Linked DNA regions of Homo sapiens: regions 1 and 2 are each linked to region 3. Evidence: promoter capture Hi-C in 16 types of primary human blood cells and fetal thymus (Javierre and others, 2016). All regions are on one chromosome and are shown on one strand. The core of a region is centred on a gene start or on the middle of the fragment in contact, and the rest is flanking DNA. Distances in the headings are between cores, read along the strand shown.

Region 1 (2,778 bases), core at 110-2,609, 280 kb before region 3:
TCCTCTGTGTGGCAGCACCTGTGTCTCCATTCTGGAGCTGACAAAGGGATAAACAGGTATCTGAGTAAAAGAAATATGCTATTGTCCTACTGAGTAGTCACAGGTCTTGGAATCTAAATCAGGGAACATTTCATTTAACTCTCACTTCGAAGAGTGATACATTTGTCACGTTTAAGTAAACATGAAACTCTTTTGTAAAACAAATGCTTTATTTAGAAGAAGAATGCTATGTGACCACAATTCCTGGTGTTGAGATATTGTAACAACATATTTCCTGGAGTCACTTTTTTTCTCAGGAAAAAACAATGTATTAAAATGTCTATTTAACCATTTCCCGATTGATTAATGTGATTATGGTAAAGAAGACAGCACTTCTCAAAAATGATTACACAGAAGCATATCTGGCACTATTAACATCCACACCAGATTTAAAAGTCTATATTGACACTTGAATTTCATGATTATCATCACTTTTTTTTTAAGCTGGCGGGTTAGATGCATTACTATAAAAGCTGAAACTAATTTACAGTGATGTTCAATTATAGGCCAATGGAGAGGTCCTGATACTAACCAGGAGGTATCTGGTATTTCTCCAAATCCTTACAGAAATCTGTATTAGCTAAGCAGAGAGAAGGAGTTTAAACGTAAGCAGGTTGGAAGGTGATGGTGAAACAAACTAACTAACTATACTGTCTGAGTTACAAACCGATGCATGTAAATCAATACTGGATGAAGAGGCTAAAACAGCTAGCAGCCAGGTAGCCCAGGAGAGTTTCCACTGGAGAGAGATCATTTAATTATCTATTAGGAACAGTTCTGGGCCTTCTGTGCACTTGTGCATAAATGTGTGCATTTAACTCCAAGTGGATAAAAAGGAAAAGTAGAGTGAGCTGGTGCAGGGAGACCCAGGCAGCATGAGACGGATGTGCCTCCAACTACAGCTCTCATTTGGACAGGGTGGCCTCTCAGGAGAAAGCTCATGTCACAAAAATGCTCACAATAAGCATGTGACAACATCCTGGTGACACAACAGTGTTTGTGGTATGACCCTAAATTAGTGAATGCAGCCCTACACTTACACCTGGGAAAGACCCCCTTCCGTGCTGGGCAGGTGCTGGAGTCCCATGTCTCTCCCCAGGTCTGGAGGGCTACAGGGAAAACAGGAGGCAGAGCCAGGGTCTCTGCCCATCGCAGACAGAAAGGGCAGATTGCTACAGACACATGCCCTTCTGCAGAGCAGAGCAGGGCAGGCAGGCAGGCGGGCAGGGGTTCACTTGGATCCTGCAGTGTCTGATGTCTTAATACCTGCCTGCAAACAAATTTCACTGGAAACCTTTTTTGCTTCTGAGTGCCTATGCTGGTATGAACACATAGCACAAGGCATGGGGGTGTTAAGAGAGCATTCCCAGGAGTGACAATACAGAGCACTCCACTCAAGCAGTTTCCTTTGGAGGGGTCCACAGCTAAGAAGACACGTCCATGGAGCTGGGGCACAAGAACGCAGCCCACGCCATGTGTGTTCTTGCGTGGCCGGGGTCCATCATTTGCCTTCTGCAGGTCAACAGCTATTGCAGCTGAGTAGGTCAAATTTCTTCAAGGTTGTATTTACTTTTATTTAACTGGGATGAGGACATTGATGTCATGAATTTGAAATTTAATTTTTAATCCCAATGACTCCACAGATCTCCCATTTTAGGAACCCTCTGTAAGAAGGTTTGAACCCCCTCTAGTAACTTCACTGGGTAAAAAGGGAAGTCTTCATGGATACTATGTCATAGAATTTGAGGGCATTTCAGAAGAAAGTGAAAAAATGTGTTTGAACTGCAAGAACTGACGTAGGTCTACTGCAATCATACCTGGGAGGAGCAGTGCCATTAGGGTGCTGTTTTTAGGAGGCTCAGGGACTGCACCTTTTTATCTTACAGATGGGAACTAGATAGGCACAGACAATCTTCTTGGTCTTTGTTATTAAAAATCCCATTATTTAGAATAATAATGTGGTGTATTTGCACCCTGCATTTCCTGCTTCCTTCCTACCTCTCTCCTCTCTGGTTCTCACAATAACCCTGAGACATTGGTGGGGAAGATGTTACTATTACACCCGAGTCAGAAATATAAAACTGAGCTGCACAACAGGGGAAGTGACGTGCTGGTGCCGATGAGCTGATTAGAAAATGGCGCCAGTGGTACTTCACCAACGTGGGGATATGGGCAGAGGCGAGACCGCCCCTGAATCCTCTCAGTGTATCCTGGAAGGGACTGAGAAGCTGACTCAGCCATGGGCAGGAGGAGGAACAATGGCCACAGTGCAAGTCCTAGCCTGTCCAGTGGGGATTCCCGTCGTACCTAAGCCCCAGGTGGAGAGCCCTCTGAATGGCCCTGTTCACTGTCACTGCTCAGCTGCACTGCCCTGCTGCCTGAGGCGGCTCTGTGCTCCACAAGCTGGGAGCTTGTTAGGAATGCTTGCTCTCCTGCCTCCCCCCAGGTCTGAAGCAGAGTTGTATGTTCACGAGATCTCAGGTGATTTACATGCTCTTTCAAGTTTGAGAAGCACTGCTCTAGAAATGTTTTAAGCATAGAGAATTCAGAAAGCATGCCTTTTCTAACATATTCCACTCAGATCCCAGGAAAATGAAAACCTTTTCTAGCATGTCTAGTTATTCAAACCAAGTTTGGCCAAACCAGGTATTTCTGTATCTACCTGGGACCCTTTATATTTAGGCAAGTGGAAATGCATGATGAAAACAATTCATGAGTTCATTGCTTCAAGTGTGTGTA
Region 2 (3,134 bases), core at 162-2,661, 300 kb before region 3:
AACAAAAAACAGTTACAAATCCAAACACAACATTGTCTGGTCCAGTCCAGTCTATGCTGCTGGCGGGAGCGAGAAGGCGGCAGTCCTTGTGCTTTTCCTGGGGTGGCTCGGGGTCTGGGGTGGGGGCGCGGGAGGGCTTTAGCTCATGTGGAAGCGGTGCTCCCCTCGCGTTATGTGCGACGAGAACTCGTACCGGTCCTGGCTGTGGTAGCCGCACATGTTGCACTCAAAAGGATCACGGAAGCCGTGGCAGCCCATGTGGATGGTGTACATGACGTGATCCAGGAAGAGCACCCGGCAGTGTTCGCACTTGTACACCTTCATCTGCTCCCCGCTGGTGCTGACCACGCGGAGCGCGTCCTGCGAGTTCTCGGAGGCGGCGCGCAGCAGGTCGTAGGCGCGGTGCTCCTCCTTGAGCGACAGCCCGTTGCGCGCGTGCGGGGCGATGTGGTTGGTCAGGTAGATGAGACCGCTGCGCTGCTCCTCGTTGTTGCTCTCGGTGTCCGTGGAGTCTTGGCAGCTGTTGCTCGGGGACGCCTCGCGCTCCGAGGGCACCAACTTGGCCTTGGAGAGCAGCAGCAGGTTCTCCACGGCGCTGTCCTGGGCCGAGTGGTTGGAGCGCGGGGTGCCCTCCGCGAGCGGCTTGTGCAGCTGGTACATCGGGCTGATGACCGGGACCACCTCGGAACCGCCCGGGGGCGTCTGCACCAGCGGGCGCAGGGACTCGGCCCCCAGGTAGTTGATGGCGTTGTTGATGGCTTGGTCCATCACGTGGGACTTCATCATTTCGTTCTCCTTCTCGTAGCTGGCGCTGCTGTCGTAGGGCGTGTCGGACAGGCCCTTGTCCCCTGTGGAAAGCAGGCGACAGTGAGTGGGGCGCGGCCACCTCCGGAACCGGTCAGGTCTGGCAGCAACAGCTGAAATCTACAACCGGGGAGGGGAAGGGGAACACGGCCTGGGGGCCCAGCACGCCTGCGGACCCCACACCTGCACACATACACACACACCTGCGGACACATCACACCTGCACCATACTGACGGGCTGGGGGAAGGCCCATGCGTCTGTCTAGGGGACACCGAGCCAGGACCTACCCATTATAAGCACTTAAGGAGATTTTGTTGGATAAATGAATACATAAATAGGGGAACCAAAGATTAGTTTAATTATGTTATTGTATTTCATTTAATATTTTAAATAGTGTATTTGAAATGATGCTTTTTCAGTAGAGTGTTCTCAGTAATTTACAACTGGCTAACTTACTATACATTTATTGAATTAAAATAGACAATAATTATATTATTATTCATTATATACAATATATTTAAAATATGTGATATGTTAAATTATTAATTTTAATAATTGTATTTAATAATTTTAATAATCTAGTGTAAAATTTAATCAAAATACATGATGATTGTATATTTTTTGTAATAAAATGACACATTTTTGACAAATAACCCAAAGGTAGATGAACTCTGTCTTGAGATGAGAGTGGAAGGGATACTCAAAAGTAATTCTCTGTAGTTGGCAGGCCCGAAGCAGGGCTCCCCAGAAACATGTGGTGGAGGGTAGGAGGCACAGCAAGGGAGCTACAGGGAAAATAGTTGCTATTCATCTGTTATTTTTTAAAAGTAATGAGAATTATTGATGTACAAGGAACTACTGTTGACGCCTCAGCAGTGATTGGGCCCTGGCCTTGAGAAACTTCTGATCTAACATCATCAGTTCATAGGAGTCCATGAGCTCATTTCCCTGGCAATGGTGAAACCAGAGCCTAGATTTGGCTTCTTCAATTAGCTTTGGAGTAAATATCTTAATACAAAAAATAAATTTTCTTGAAGACACACCTTCTCAATATGTTGGTCATAAGTTCAGTATGAAATCATGGCTTAATTAGCAAATTCATTAATTACAGTAACTGCACTCTTACTGGCAAGACTGCGGCTGTGTTCTGTTTTCAGCAGTGGTACATTAATGAGTCAAAGCACATGAGCCCATCCTTGGAATGTCTGAACGGTTTATATTTTACCACTACTCTGTATATTTCCATCCTTCAACACATCTGGACTGGGCAGAGGGACAGAACAGTGAGTAAGTGAGAATGGTCCCCATCCTTAGCAGCAGACAGCTACTAGGGGAGGGTAGGTAGAAGTTTATGTGTGATTGCATGGATAATTCCTTCCCATCTGAGAAATCCACGAAGACAAGGGGAGCGTGCCATGAGAGCATTACACAGGTTTCTGATCTTGTAAGAGTCAGCCAGATAAGGAGGGTTGATAAGGAGGGTTTTGTGTCCCAGTGTTGGGGACAACAAGAAGGAAAGTTCTGAAGGGAGAAGGGGCTGGGAGGTGTGGCAGGACCGAGTGAAGGTTGGGGAACCAGAGCCCTAGGTGGGGGCAGTGCTCGAGAGGTAGGCAGGAGGGGCAGGCAGAGGCCAGCTAGGCAGAGACTTTGTCTAAAGGAAAATGGAAACCACTGAAAGGTTTGAAGGAAGAAGTGGCCTTCTCATTCACTGTGGAAAGAACAGCTTGAAGAGGGGCAAAAGTGAGGGATAAGTCAAAACTTCCCCAATGTGCAGGTTATGGCTGATGATGGCTGGTGAGGGTGGTGGCAAGGGAAGGTCCCAACACCTTCCACGATGCACCTGACACTGAGGTCATCAGCTGGTTCTTACTAACAGAAGGATAAATTACTCTGTAATTCATACATTTACTAATAGTCCTTTTATAAAATCTGTGACCATTAAGAATTGTCCAGGAATATATGCCCCATTATACCATAAAGTACCTTTGAGTTTCATGTCTTATTTTGTAATGGATATGTATCATATAATAGCCTGGTTTCCATTCGTTTTCATCTACTGGTGGTCAGAAGTGGCACATACTCTGATTAGAGAAAAAAAACTTGTGCATGGCCAGTTACGCCCTCCCAGAAACAGAACAGGATGAAAACCCTATGAAGCTGATGGTAGGGACCAAAGAAGTGGTGTTTCTCTCCATTAAAGGTCAGAAAAAGTAATTGTATAGCACTGCTGAAACCACACAATTTTTTTGTTTCTGTTTTTGTGTTGAGCAGCTAAATGTCTTGTTACACTAACTCCAGAGAAGAATGAATCCATTCTAGTTTGTATCCA
Region 3 (2,961 bases), core at 347-2,846:
CATGGGACAGATGAGCTCTATACTTGGTTCTGACTTGGTGGTACAAAGTCTGTTAACACCATTTTAGCCCTATGTTAGCTTTGCTAAGCCATTTCTTCAACCTATAATTTCTTAGAATAATGTTTAAAAGTATTCTTCCTATAGCATTTGGCCCTTTCCTTTTCCGATGCTAAAAATGTTGATCTTTTTACATTCCTGCCTGCCAGACAGCTTTTATACAGAAAATAGTACCTGTGGCTTTCCTTTGGAGGTGTTTCTCATCATTTAGAGGAACTCCATTTACAGGAGTTCTTACAGAGAAACCACATGGTGCAGATGTCAGTAAGAGGTCATCAAACCTGCCTCCATGGCTGTGGAGCTATTTATGCAGAGTTTGCTTCATTTCAGCTTCTGTTCTTATTGGAGCCAAAAAATGTACGTTCAAGTACTTAAATTTTTCCCATTTTATTTCAATCCTTAAAACTAACTCTTTCATAATATCAGTGAATTCATTCTTTCAAAGGAGAGAGACAGATAAGGAGGATTTCTATACAATTATCAAAGTGATACATAAATTCCCCTGTGGTAAAACAAGCTTATCCATATATCTAGAATAAATAATGTTATATACTTTGTGTTAATCACTAATGAATGTTCTTTTCTTAAAGAATAAATTTTCTTTTACAAATAAGTTTATAAGGTTTATCATTCCTTTGTTTCTTATAATCTGTAATTTAAAAATAAAACCTTTTTCAGATCATTGTAATTTTGTTAATTTAACTGCCTAAATATTGAATCTTATGTCCATACTCTCTTCCCTTGAGCATTTAAAAAATAGAAAGTTCATGTCACTTCATTTACCTCCAAGTCTTGCTCTGATAGAAATGTCTGGTACTTCCCTGGAATTCCATCTCCTGTTCTGTTGCAGTTCTTCTGATAGAATTTTTTGCCTTTTTATTGTTGTTTGAAATCCTGTGTCTGGTCTGGGAACTCGATGTTGAGGTTTCACATCACTAAAATCCACTAGGGTTGGTATGGTTCTGCCAATGCCAGGATTTAAATCAGCATCACCACCAGGACTCATAAACCCTGAACAGGAATCACCTAAGGTCACATCATCCCGAAGTGGAAATAATGGATAATGTGGCCCATATGGTGGGGGATAAGGATCATGTAAATGATAGTCTGGCAAAACTGAAGGGGGATAAGGGTGAAATTTAAGAAAAGCAGGGTTGCATTTCTTTTCAAACCTGCCATAGTTATGTCTGTTCTCAAGACCTTTCACAAAAGGCATGTTCATTTTTCTTAAGAGATCACAATAGTGTGGGTAATCTATATTCTCAACAGTTCCTGAAAGGATGGACCTTTTAGAGATACTTATCTTTCCAGGTGTGTCCTGAATTTCTACATCCATGGCCTTTTTCTTTAGAATTTTTGATAACTATAAAGTATTTCTGATAATTCCTTTATATTTAACTATATAAACTCTATTGCCAATAACTAAAGATCTGTGTTAAACTAGTATAAAATTGACACAGCTTTCTAAATGTTGGCAGATAATTTTGTTTTTCTTTTTAAGGCAAATATTTTCCTCCACCAAAGGAAGAATAGGGCAATGAAGGAACATGACATAAGGAGAATAAAGCAGAGCCCTTGTTGCCTGGCAACGGCTAGAATTCTTAACACATTGAACCATTTATTATGTACATCACAATTCTTAAGAAAAACAAAAATAGCCTTGGTACTAATATTTCCATGATACTTTTCTCCCCAGTGCTCAGGAAAGCTGTGTTCATTTACTTATTTTAAAATTTTTCCATAAGTTGGTATTTTATGGGTATAAAATATATTTAAGGAGTGTAAATAAAGCAGTTAATTCAGTGACAATACATTTCTCAAAAGTATATATGTGACTACAATTAAGTATTTATATATATAACACTTGCTATCTAATTAAATGTAAATCTAAATGCACTACAAAATATAAACATTACTAAAGTTAAATTGGTACATCTAATTTTTTTTTTTTGGTGGAGTCTCACTCTGTCGCCTAGGCTGGAGTGCAGTGGTGTGATCTTGGCTCACTGCAAGCTCCGCCTCCCAGGTTCACGCCATTCTCCTGCCTCAGCCTCCCAAGCAGCTGGGACTGCAGGCGCCCGCCACCATGCCCGGCTAATTTTTTGTATTTTTAGTAGAGATGGGGTTTCACTGTGTTAGCCAGGATGGTCTCGATCTCCTGACCTTGTGATCTGCCCGCCTCGGCCTCCCAAAGTGCTGGGATTACAGGTGTGAGCCACTGTGCCCAGCCCTAGTATATCTAATTTTTAAGAAAAACAGAAAATTATAATGAAAGTACAGGTACATCTTTACATGCCCTAAATTATCTTTACTTCCCTTAAATTTGCCATGGTGTCCAGAGTAAGAACAGTAAGAGTTTTAAGTTCATTTTAGGAAACCACAATGGGTATCAGTTAACTGTCTACACACAAAATATCATTTAAATCACTAATGTATTGGTTCACTTAAAAGCTCTTTCACCTGGATAATTTCATCTTGCATGAACTACTATAAGAGGAAATGCAAATATTAGAATTTGGGGTAAAAGTTCACATCATCCTTACTGCAGCAAAAATGTTAAAACAGGCAAGATTCTAGCTTTGAAGAGTCAGGCACATAATCGTTAATCAGGCCAACTGTCAAGGGTGATATGTTTGGTACAATCAGAATGCCTATGCCCCATTGAAAGTCTTTACAATTTTGAGATATACTATTAAACAAGTGAGATTAAATTAGGTGGTTAGGCTGTCAGTTTTAAATCCTTCATCCAGATCATAGCATATCAAGTGACAGTTTTTAGTCCACCCATGATCACTCATTTCTTCATATCAAAAGTGATAACTCACTTGTAATTAGGCATTCTACATTTAGTTGCTCAAACTTCATTCTTCAATGTATTTAAACCAACTGCTTAAGATTTATTTC

What was found. The method cuts DNA at HindIII sites, captures the fragments that hold promoters and counts their contacts. A CHiCAGO score of 5 or more calls a contact.
Region 1: a fragment that was not itself captured here is called in contact with the fragment with the promoter of SPMIP7 in region 3 in 11 of 17 cell types (naive CD8 T cells, naive CD4 T cells, total CD8 T cells and 8 more); the score reaches 14.8 in naive CD8 T cells.
Region 2: a contact is called between a fragment that was not itself captured here and the fragment with the promoter of SPMIP7 in region 3, in 8 of 17 cell types (total CD8 T cells, total CD4 T cells, naive CD4 T cells and 5 more). The highest score is 11.4, in total CD8 T cells.

The regions. Positions count from the first base shown.
Region 1 is chr7:50,378,820-50,381,597 of GRCh38, reverse strand. All of the region lies in intron 4 of IKZF1 (IKAROS family zinc finger 1), which reads right to left. Among named protein-coding and RNA genes, the nearest start is that of FIGNL1, 70 kb to the left of the region's middle. RefSeq lists enhancers at 1,818-2,323, 2,324-2,778. The HindIII fragment of the contact is 8,997 bases long and covers 1-2,778 here.
Region 2 is chr7:50,397,632-50,400,765 of GRCh38, reverse strand. It overlaps IKZF1 (IKAROS family zinc finger 1), which reads right to left. Exons shown (of 8, transcript NM_006060.6): 8 at 1-848. The coding sequence ends at 139. Among named protein-coding and RNA genes, the nearest start is that of FIGNL1, 51 kb to the left of the region's middle. The HindIII fragment of the contact is 4,416 bases long and covers 1-3,134 here.
Region 3 is chr7:50,094,518-50,097,478 of GRCh38, reverse strand. It overlaps SPMIP7 (sperm microtubule inner protein 7), which reads right to left and starts at 1,596. Exons shown (of 9, transcript NM_001161834.3): 1 at 841-1,596. The coding sequence starts at 1,393. The HindIII fragment of the contact is 3,144 bases long and covers 577-2,961 here.